Regions from separate parts of the Homo sapiens genome. Here all the other regions are linked to region 3. The links are contacts of gene promoters, found by promoter capture Hi-C in blood cells and fetal thymus (Javierre and others, 2016). All regions are on one chromosome and are shown on one strand. The core of a region is centred on a gene start or on the middle of the fragment in contact, and the rest is flanking DNA. Distances in the headings are between cores, read along the strand shown.

Region 1 (3,627 bases), core at 60-2,559, 260 kb before region 3:
TAGTATTCCAAGCTGGTACACACCAGCATGGCCATGCTGGTGGTTACAGGAACACCAAAATACTTCTGCACTGGGTTGACTTTATCAGGGTACTTAGCAAAGAAGAAAAGTGGGAGCTGAGATCCAGGCAGCCTTAGCATTCCTTGTAACAGGCCATGTGGTCTGGCATAGGGCTGCATCAGCTGGAAAGGCACTTCCTCTTCTCATTTCACAAGGGCCCATCTTATCACCAAGCAGTATCTGCCTGAGGAGCATTGTTTTACCAGTCTGCACAGAAGGAACGCAGTCTGGAGTAGGATGAGACATGCCTTGGACAAAGGTTGGCTAACTCCTTTAGACTTTCAGGACACTGGGGAAGGCCGAGTGTATTAGGCAAGCCAGCCATTGTAAAAACAACCCCCTCATCTTAGTGACTTTGCACATTACAAGTTTGCTTGCTCATGGAACAGTCCATTGTGGGGGTTTGAGTGGGTATCCTTTCACACAGCAACTGGGACACCTAGGCTCTTTCCCTCCTGTGCCTTTGCTGTGCCTTGAAGCCTTGGAGTCACTACCAGATCCTCAGCATTGCCTGGCAGGCGGGCCAAGTGGGGGATAGAAGGGGCCCATCCTAGTGGGCCAGGCCTAGATGCAGCACCCATCACTTCTGCCCATGCTCCACTGGCTGGAACTGAGTCACTGGCCTTACCTCCATGCAAGAGAGGCAACAGGATGTGCTTTAGCCATGTGCCCAGCTGCACAAGGCTAAAGCACAGCCATAACTAGCAACTAGATAACTAGCAAGTATCTACAACAGAAAAATGTCGCATTCTAAGATGGGATGCAGTTAGCATTTGGGATGAGATGATTTTTCGTTATGTAGAACTGTCTCATGCATTGGGGGACATTTAGCATCCCTGGACCTTGACCATTTAAATCCATGAGTGTGCCCTGTCATAGTGACAACCCCAGATACCTCTATATATAGCCATAGGTCCCTTAGGGGTGTGATATAGTTGGAAAGTGACAGAAACTGGCCTGAGGAACACTCACATGAGGGTGTCCACACTGTAGCACTGATACTGATGACAAGGAGAGGCTCCTACTCTGAGAAACTGTACAGAGGGTCACATCTGACAGGGACAGAGACAATCTTGGGTAGAACAATCTACACCACAGAGGACCCTGACAGTCTGGGCAAGGAGACAGCCACACCCTGTCCAGATAACCCTGCTGGCCTGCTGGAGGAGATGTCTACATGCCACAGGACCTGGCCATCTGGAAGGAGGAGGTGGGGAGGTGTCCACACCCTGAGGGCTCCTGACAGTGGGCGGGGGAAGGAGTCCTGATAATCTGCAGGAAGTCCATGTCCCACAGTGACCCCAGTGACCTGGAGGAAGAGCTTGTGCTCTCCACACTCTAGAGGACCTGGTGGTCTGACTTAGGAAGTGTTCACACCCATGTTGTCATGACAGGAAAAAGAAGTGTCCTCACCCCAGAGGGATCCGGACAGCCTGGAGATCTAGTCTACACCCAAGGGCACCCTGACAGTATCGGGGGAAGTGTCCATGCCCTCAATGTCCTGACGCTCTGGAGGAAGTGTCCAGAGGTTGAAGGAACCCAAACTCTCTGGAGGAGATGTCCAGACCCCATAGGACCCAGACAGTCCACCGTCCTAGGGGCTGCACAGAGCAGGAAGTATCTCAGCCTCACTGTACTGGCATCTGGAGGAAACACTGTCTACCACACAGGGTCCTGACAGTCGAGGAGGAAGACTACACCCCAAGGGCAGCCTCAGACCCTCCTGGGCCTGAGACTTTTCTGGCTGCTCTTCCTTAGTGTCAGTGTCTTTAATCCTCCCAGGGATCCTCTCAGCCCTGTCCTCACCCTTCCTGCTCTCCACACATTCTTGCTGCACTATTTCCTGACCGCCCTCCAGCACCCTCAGACCCATGGGTCCTCCTGATGGTGCCACAGGCCTCCGGAAAGAGCCAAACTCATCTTCCCGCATTCCCCTCTGAAGAGACAGTATAGCAAATGGTTAGGAGGGTGGACTCTGGATCCTGACTGCCCGAGGCTGAATCCCAGCTCCACTACTCATCAGCAATCACTAACCTCTGTGCCTGCATTTACTATGTAAAATGGGAACAATAATAGCACTCACCTCACAGGCTTGTTACAAAAATTAAATGAGTTACTATGTATCAAGCACTTGGAAAAAGCACTTGAACAGTGTTCAGTACACAGTAAGTTTGATACAAATGTTATCAGCATAGTTCAAACTTCAGCAAATCCAAAATGTCTGGAAGACCAAGTTTTTTTGTAACCCATCTGGCTACAGGACCCAGCCTGACCGGATAGGGTCCTATTTGTAGTTTTTATTTATCCTACTTGGGGTAATAGTCATACATTTCGTTGCAGCAGTTCTAATTTACTTGATTCTGTAGTGCCGTCCCAGATGCTGCCAGGGTGTTACGGAATCAAGGGCCTATCTGCACACCATGCTATCTACTGTCCTTCTTCAGCTGGGACATGTACTGACAGTCTGTACCAAGAGCTCCCTCCACGGGAGCTGCCCTTCCCTCCTTTGCAGCCTCCCACATTGGGTCAGAACTTTCACGTTCCTGCAGAACATTCCCATCCTCACCCAAGAGACAATGCCAGCCTATTTTATCCATTCTAAAACATGCATTTTCTTCCTATTTTAACATCTCGGAAATGAAGATGTCTTAATTAAATCATGGTGTATCATTTATAATTAACAGCAGTTTTTCCTTTCTTGGTAAAGGGCACATAAAATTAAGGGTGTGCCTTACATTTATAACTGGTCCTCATAACCACTCCTAACATTGCTCACTCTCCTATCAGAAACAGGAACACCTTTCACGTCCATGATCTTGTATGGATCTTTACAACAGCCCCTGTCAGGTTGGGATTTTGTCACTGTCATTCCCATTCTGCAGATGAGAAAACTGAGGCCCAGAGAGGTAGAATAACTTGATTAAAATCACAAAAGTAGTACAATGGATAAAAAAATAAAGGCCCAAATAATATCTAAAACTGGTACCCTGCCAGGCTGTAGCTTTTTTTTTTTTTTTTTAGCTGAGGAAACAGGCACAGAGAGAACATTCAGGATCCCATATCCAGGAGGGGGCAGAGCAGCAGCTGACTCCAAGTCTTCTAGTTCCCATTCACGTCAGCACCCTCTCGGAACTGCCAGCTTACAGCCTGTCTTTTCCATTCATTCTGGAGAGCTGTTAGGGAGCAGAGACAGGCCCATCTGTTCCCAAGCTTTCAGGGTTGACCAATCATTAGAGAATGGGACTGAAAAGAAGATGAGAAGGAACCAAGAAGTGTTTGTGCCCTGGAGGGCCTGCAGTATGACTCACTCCTGGTGAGACTGGGAGAGCAGGTAGTGGCAGAATAGGCATGAAGATGGAGACTAGGAAGGATGTGGGCACTCCTCCTGGCTCAAGGAGGGCCTACGGTGAAAAAGATGGCTCATACCCCACCCACTAGGCCTGTGAGCCTGGGAGAGGCTGCCCTTTGATCCCAGGACTTGATCAGACAAGTGGCCAGCTTCTGAGGTAGGGGAGGAACGGGAAGCTTGGAAGGCTGCCTAGAGAGGTCCCATCTGTTTGAGCTGAT
Region 2 (3,488 bases), core at 524-3,023, 240 kb after region 3:
TTTCGGCTCCCAGGTTCAAGTGATTCTCCTGCCTCAGCCTCCTGAGTAGCCGGGATTACAGGCATGCATGACCACGCCTGGCTAATTTTGTATTTTTAGTAGAGACGGGGTTTCTCCATGTTGGTCAGGCTGGTCTCGAACTCCTGACCTCAGGTGATCCGCCCACCTCGGCCTCTCAAAGTGCTGGGATTACAGGCGTGAGCCACTGTGCCTGGCGGGAGTTGGGTCTGTTTTAGTTACTATCATGCTTCCAGCACTTTGAGTAGTACCAGATATAAAATAAGTTCTCAAAAATGTGTATAGAATGAATGAATGGGGATTAAATAATAATATTGGCTAACATTAATTGGGTACCTACTGGGTTAAGGTATGTATATACACCTGTCTTACTTTTGTATCTTGTTTATTGCCTGTCCCTTACCCCTTCGCTGGAACAGAGCCAGAGGGCCACAGCCTATGTCTGCCTTGCTCACCACATAGTCCTAGAGTCCAGAGCAGTGCCAGGTACAAGGCAGGTGCTCAGTGATCCCAGTGGATGTAGCCTCGAGGTGGGAGCTGGGCAGGAGCTACTTGCGGGGGGAGGTATTGGCCGGTTCCACCCTGCCCCTTCCTCTCCCAGGTCTGTTGGTATCCCAGGGTGGGAGCACACCTGAAGGGGTACTCGAACTCGACCTCGATGCTGAGGTCACTCTCGGTCTTGTTGGCACAATCCACGCTCAGCTGGAGCTCCCCACTGTAGCTGCCGCATGTGGCAAAGGCGAAGATGGCGAAGACCTTGGGCAGCAGGGATGGGGATGGCCACAGTGAACCTGTGTGCATGTGGGAGGGAGGTGCCCTCCTCTGGACAGATCGGGGGCCCAGCACAGGCAGCAGCAGATGGAGCAGTCCCCACCCCCACCCCCTAATCAGGGCTCATCGGGACCAAGGACAAGCTGATTACAAGGGTATGGCTGTCTCTTCCTGTTTCTCTCTCTGTGTCTCTCTCTGTCTCTGCCTTTCCATGCTGACCTCCCTCTTCTCTGTTTGTCTCTGTTGTTCTCTGTGTATCTCACTGTGTCTCTGTTTCTCTCGGTATCTCTGTTTCTCTATGTGTCTTTGTCTTTCTCAGATGTCTCTTTGTCTCTCTGTGTCTCTGATCCTCTCTGCCTCTGCCTATCTGATCTGTCGATGTCTCTTTTTGTCTCTTTTTTCTCTGTCTGTGTAAGTGTATGCCTGTATGTCTGTGTCTTTCTGTTTCTTGGTCTGTTTGTCTCTGTCTCTCTGTCCTGTCTCTCACTCGGTCTCCGGATGGTTCTCTCTCTGTCTCCCTCTTGCCTCTGTGTGTTGGTTTCTCTTTTTTCTGAGTGTCTCTTTCTCTCTGTGTCTCTCTCTCCCTCACCCTGTTTTCCTGCCTCTCTCCCTGCGTCTGTTTCTCTTTGCATCTGTTTTCTGTGTCTCCTTTTTCTTTGTTTCTGTTTGTCTCTTCTCTCTTATGTCTGTATCTCTTCTCATCTCCATATTTCTTTTTTTTTTCTCAGTATTTCCATCTCTGTCTTTATCATTCCCTGTCCCTCATTCTCTCTGTCACCTTCACTGTCTCTGGGTTTCTCTGACTTTGCATCTCTCACCCAGCATCTGCTACAGGCTCCACCTCCCCCACCCCTCCCTCACTTCAAGAGAGGAGGTAGGACGTCACAGTCTCCCACTTCACAACGGGGGTACCCTCAGCCCTATGTGACGTCACAGCTCATCTGTTTTCTGGCTTCAGACCCCTGAAACCTCACCCTGGAGCCCAATTCCCCCATCCCCTACAACCCCCGCACTCATCCCTGGCTACTCGCCCCTACTCCACCCCTGCTCTTCTGGACCCCATGACCTCCCTCTCTCCCTGCACTCTGCCCCAACAGCCCGGACCACACTCACCCATTGCAGCACCTTCACAAAGCCGAGGGGCTCCTTGACCACCCGGAACTGACCCCCAGCCACCAGCTGAGGAGAGAAACAGTGGGGAAGGGGTGGGGTTGTTGGAGGTACAGGGAGGTGAGCGGCAAGGCTGCCCATCAATGACCCCAGGGGATGGAGCATGTGACCTCGGGGAGAGGGTGAGAAGGAGAAAGTGACACCTTGGGGATGGTGTGAGCCCCAGGGTCCAAGGACTGGTGGGAAGGTCTGAAGAGATGGTGAGTCAGATGGCAGAGGAAGTCGGGGGTGAGGGAGATGGGGATGAGGTCAGGACTAGTTAAGGAGGGGGAGCAGGTTTGAAACGTAAAGGCGAGTCGGATGGGGAAGGGGTTCGGGTAGAGAATGGGGATGGAGTGGGGTGCATTCGGGTGGGGGGGTTGTGATGGTGAAGGTGAGTCATAACGGGGCAGGAGTCGGTTTGGCTCAGGTGGGGGAAGGGTCTGCAGGGGTAAAGGTGTGTTAGACGGCGGTGGCGGTAGATATTTGAGGTGATGGGGATGGGGAAGGGTTGGGACTGATTGGGGGTGAGTTTCTGAGGTGGCAAAGACGAGAGACATGGCGGAGAGGGTCTGGACTGATTAAGGTGGGGGAGGGCTGGGACACGGCTTCAGTCGCTATGTGTTGGGGGTGAGGAGGCTGGGGGTTTTGGAAGGAGTAAAACCGGATTGTCCCCTAGGTGTGCTCTGGGGGAAGGGGTGGTCGCCTATGGGGGTACAGTCTCTGTTTGGGAGGGGCGGGTGCCAGCCCTCTCCCCCATCCCCGCCCCCACACCTTCTGTCGCTCTATTTCCTAGCTTATCCGCAGCACCCCCCATCTTCCTTCCACTCTCCCCTCCCCTTGTCCCTTGCCCTCACTCCAGCCCCCAGGCCCCTATTCCTCCCCTCGCGGTCGCCAGTAATAAACGGGGCTCCGGGGGCCCCCGCTGCGGCAGTGAGGACGGCCCTCGCTGCGGCAAAGAGCGCACTCCTTTTCTCCACCTCCCCCTTCCTCCCCTTCACCTGCCGCAGACCCCCATCCCCAGCGCCGGGGACCGGGTCTCCGCTGCCAGACCCTGGCCACCACCTCCCAGAGTCGGCTGGCCTGAGCGACCCGGCCTAGGCAGCCGGGCGGCGGCGGGCTCTGTCCACGGTGCTGGAGCGCGTACCTGATTCACCACGTCCATGTCCGCCAGCAGCAGCATCAGCAATGCAGGGGGCGGGAGGCTCGGCTAGCAAGGGCGGCGCGGGGCGCGGCGGGGGCGGCGCGCGCTCGTTGGAACAGCCCAGGCGGCTGCAGCCCCGCCCCTCGCGCCCCCTCCTTGCCCGCCACGCGCCTGCGCACAGCGGGTTGTACCACAGTCTCACCGGCAGCCATTCCGGCCCGGAGGCTGGAGCCGTGAGAGCGTGCGGGAATATGCGTTGGGAAAACACAAGTCGAGGGCCGGGGAGAGGAGACCTCCCTGCTCGGTCCTACAGTGTGACAACTTTGCCAGGCTCTTTTCTGAGTTTGTTAAACATGTTCACTCATTTAATGCTTACAGAAGTCCTACGTTGTAGGGACTATTAGGC
Region 3 (3,530 bases), core at 1,015-3,514:
CTTGGAGGTAGACTCAGGACCCTGTTCCACAGGGATCCTTTATCCATGCCCCAAGGGAAGAGTCTCAGGGCTCAGGTCTGGGGGGAGGAGTCCTCCTGTTTCTCAGGTGTACATCTTAAGTTCCTTGAGGAGGAAGCTCAGACCTTACCTCTAGACACACAAGTCACCAAGGTATGTATGAGTCTCCTGTCCCTGAAGGAAAGCTCAAGTGTCCTTGGCAGAGTGGGTCTCAGGCCCTTAAAAGTAGGCAAAGATCTGTAGGGAGGCCCCAGACATCATCTCTGGGATCCCATGTTGCCCATGTCCCCTGAGTAGTCGTCTCAGGCTCAAGTTCCCAAGGCATGGGTCGTATGTCCCTGACAAAAAGCTTAGGCCCAAGGTGGGAGGGCCTCAAACCCCTGTTACAGAGGGGAAAATGGGATACTGTATCCCCAAGGTATGTTTCAGTTCCTTATAATTGGGGTAAAAGGGTCACATATGCTCGTGGGGTGGGGAGTCTCAGATCCCCAAAACCACTCAGACACCAGCCTTGAGAAGAAGGATCTCCTAAAGACTTCACCTTGTCTGAGACCTTTGCAGCAGGACACCAGGCCCCTGAAGAGGCCTCAGACTCGGTCTCTAAAAACCTCAGTCCATAAGCAGGTGGATCTTAGGCCCTAGGATCCAACGCTGTGAGTCTCATTTTCCTGAAGAAAGGTTCAGGCCCCTGGTGGGGGTGCTGAGGGCCCATCTCTTCTTACAAGAAGCTTAAGATCCTGAAGCGGTTCAGGCCCTTGTCTCCCAAGAGGTAGGTCTCAGGCCACTGATAGGAAATGCAGACCTTTGTCACTCAGAAAGGAGATAAGTAAAGCTGCTGGTCATTGGGTGTTGGTTTTGGTCCCTGTCCCCAAGGGCAAGGGAATCATATCTCCCTGTGAAAAGTCTTACATCCCTGGAAAAAGCTTAGAAGATCCCTATCCTTAAAGGGGGCGTGTGTGTGTGTGTGTGTGTCAGGACCTTGATTCTAGAAGCAGGACTCTCAGGCCCCTGAAGACAGACTTAGGACCCTTGAGGTCTCAGGTCTGGCTATTCAGTGGTCCTGTGCAGTGTTACCCAGCGAAGCGGGAGAGGATTGTCCTATATGCAGAGTGTCTCAGACTCTTGAAAGGGCTTAGGCTCCTTGGGGATGTTCAGCCCCGATCTCCGAGGTCTCCACCTTATTTGACTTTCCTGGAAGGGGAATCTCAAACTTCTATCCCAGAGGAAAAGAGCTCTTAAGCCACTGAACACATACCTAAGTCTCTTGGGAGACCTGAGACTCCTACTCAAGAGGGGCGCGATCCTACCTGTATCTCTTGGAGAATTCCCACCTATTGGCCCTATATGATGAGGTCCCAGGGACTGGAATGACGACTATAGACCTTAAAAGAGACCTCGGATCTTTAAGTCTGACACCTTACCGTAGGCCTCTAGCCCCAAAATCCTGGAGGGGAGGAAAGAAGGTGTCTCACATCCCTACCGCCAGAGAAGACTGTCAGGCCCAGTGAAAACGCCTAGATCCCTTGGGGCGATCTCAAACAGCCTTCCTTGAGTCCCTTCACAGTCTGGGGGTCCCATCTGCCGTGGCCGCTCACCCCTCACCCCACAGCTCTTACCTGCTCGACAGTGGCAGGGTCCATAGCCTCGATGCGTGCTGCAGCCGCCTCATACTCGTCCTCACTGTTGTAGCCTGCGCCGACCTCCTCACGCTCGGGACTGCCCCCGCCAACCGCGCCAACCCCGGGAGCTTGACGTCGCCGCTTGCTGTGCCCAGGCCCGGAGCAGCAGCCGCCCACGCCTACGGCACCACCCACACCCACCACCACGCCCGCGGCACCCACACCCGCCGCCGCTGCGCCCAGCGCGTCGCCGGGACCGCCGCCGGGACCACCTGGGCCCCCGCAAGGAGGTGGAGAAGCCTGTTGTGGCCGGGGACCCGCCACTGCACCAGGCGGCACGGCCAGCGCCCAGCGATGAAGAGCGCCCGGCGGTCCTGGTAGCGGGCCTTGAGGCGGTGGCGAAGCTCGCGGACGGGCCCCCACGACGCCGGAGTCACGGTCGCGATCGCCGCCGCCCACGCCCGTGCCGCCGCCGCCCACGCCCACACCTCCGCCGCGCCGCGGCGCCGGGGGCATCGGCCCGGGCGGCGGCGGCTCGTTGGCGGGGTCGGCGTCGGGAGGCGGCGGCTTCTTTTTGGGGAGTATAGTCATGGCTGCACTGCCGAGTACCCCCCAACAAACCCGGCGCGGGGCACGCCGGGAGAGAACCCGGATGAGGGGGCTAGTGTAGTGCGCGAGGCACGACGGGAACGGCGAGACCCGGATAAAGGGATCGCGGCACCGGTTCGAGAACCCTCGGCGGCGGAGGAGGCGGCGGCGGCGGCGGCGGCGGTGGCGGCGCGCGGGTCACGCCGAGAGGAGAACCCGGATGTAAAGTCCAAGATGAAGGCAGTGCGGCGAGTTTGTCTTAGCCTTCTCTCCAAGTCCAGCAAGTTTATTGCTACGCTTGTTCCGGCCTTCTGCTTCAAAGGAAACAGAACCAAAACAAGCACCTCTTCGCTCCGCCCCCTCGCAGGTTCTTGCACTACCGGGTGGGGCCCCGGGGCGCTGCGCACGCGCGCCAGGGCACAGCCCCGCCCCTTACTCGGAAGTACGTGGGCAAAATCGCCGCCGCCGCCGCCACAACAATTGCAACACCAACCAATTGAGCAGCTGCGTGGGACCTCGACGACGCCCACGGGCCAATCACAGGCGAGTGCTCGCCCTCCGGTGCCCTCCGTCTCAAATTTCAGTCAAAGTCGACACCCTGGTTCCCAGCCTTTCTCCCCGTCAGTTCCGTCTTGCTCTTCACTTTTCTCCCCGAAGCTCTGACCTGCAGGCGTCGGTACTGCGGACGGACAGCGTGGCCTGTCCCACGTACGACAGGAAAAACACCTCCCCTCCAGGATTCCAACTTGAACGCTGTCAGCCGGAATGACTGGAAAACATCAACACTCCCGGGAGCATAGCTGGCCCCTGTAGCGTCACTTCCGGTCCCACCCACCTACAAATACCCTTCCGGGGGAGGCGGACACCGCTTCGCCCCGGCAACAGCCTGAGTTCTGCGGTGATTGGTTAAGAGACGCCGTCACTCGCGGCATACCGACCAACCTTGGGACAGACAGGCGCCGTGGGGACAGTGGTTGTTTGGGAAACAGACACGCCTTCTCTGGCACCACAGCACTCTCGGCCTCGCGTTGACCTCCCCGCCCCTATGGCTAGTGCGCAGGCGCGGCCCAGCCTTTTTTTTTTTTTTTTTTTTTTTTTTTCCTAATTGAGACAGGGGTCTCACTCTGTCGCCCAGGTTGGAATGCAGTGGCGCGATCATAGCTCACTGCAAACTCCAACTCCCAGGTTCAAGCGATCCTCCCGCCTCAGCCTCCCGAATAGCTGGGACCACAGGCGCGCACCACTACGACCGGCTAATTTTTTTTTCACTTTTTTGTAGGGACAAAGTCTCACTATGTTGCCCAG

The links. Contacts are between HindIII fragments. The CHiCAGO score rates a contact against its expected background, and 5 or more counts as called.
Region 1: a fragment that was not itself captured here is called in contact with the fragment with the promoter of OTUD5 in region 3 in 1 of 17 cell types (non-activated CD4 T cells); the score reaches 5.6 in non-activated CD4 T cells.
Region 2: a contact is called between the fragment with the promoter of SYP-AS1 here and the fragment with the promoter of OTUD5 in region 3, in 7 of 17 cell types (naive CD4 T cells, non-activated CD4 T cells, monocytes and 4 more). The highest score is 7.9, in naive CD4 T cells.

Annotation. Positions count from the first base shown.
Region 1 is chrX:48,700,912-48,704,538 of GRCh38, forward strand. The region is part of intron 3 of SUV39H1 (SUV39H1 histone lysine methyltransferase); the gene reads left to right. Among named protein-coding and RNA genes, the nearest start is that of SUV39H1, 6.0 kb to the left of the region's middle. The HindIII fragment of the contact is 3,918 bases long and covers 1-3,268 here.
Region 2 is chrX:49,197,066-49,200,553 of GRCh38, forward strand. SYP-AS1 (SYP antisense RNA 1) reads left to right here and starts at 1,774. Exons shown (of 2, transcript NR_046649.1): 1 at 1,774-2,159. It overlaps SYP (synaptophysin), which reads right to left and starts at 3,128. Exons shown (of 7, transcript NM_003179.3): 1 at 3,086-3,128; 2 at 1,903-1,968; 3 at 650-774. The coding sequence starts at 3,121. RefSeq lists silencers at 2,961-3,010, 3,081-3,320. The HindIII fragment of the contact is 12,908 bases long and covers 1-3,488 here.
Region 3 is chrX:48,955,343-48,958,872 of GRCh38, forward strand. It overlaps OTUD5 (OTU deubiquitinase 5), which reads right to left and starts at 2,265. Exons shown (of 9, transcript NM_001136157.2): 1 at 1,635-2,265. The coding sequence starts at 2,228. RefSeq lists silencers at 1,882-1,941, 2,312-2,361, 2,562-2,721 and an enhancer at 2,822-3,011. The HindIII fragment of the contact is 4,109 bases long and covers 940-3,530 here.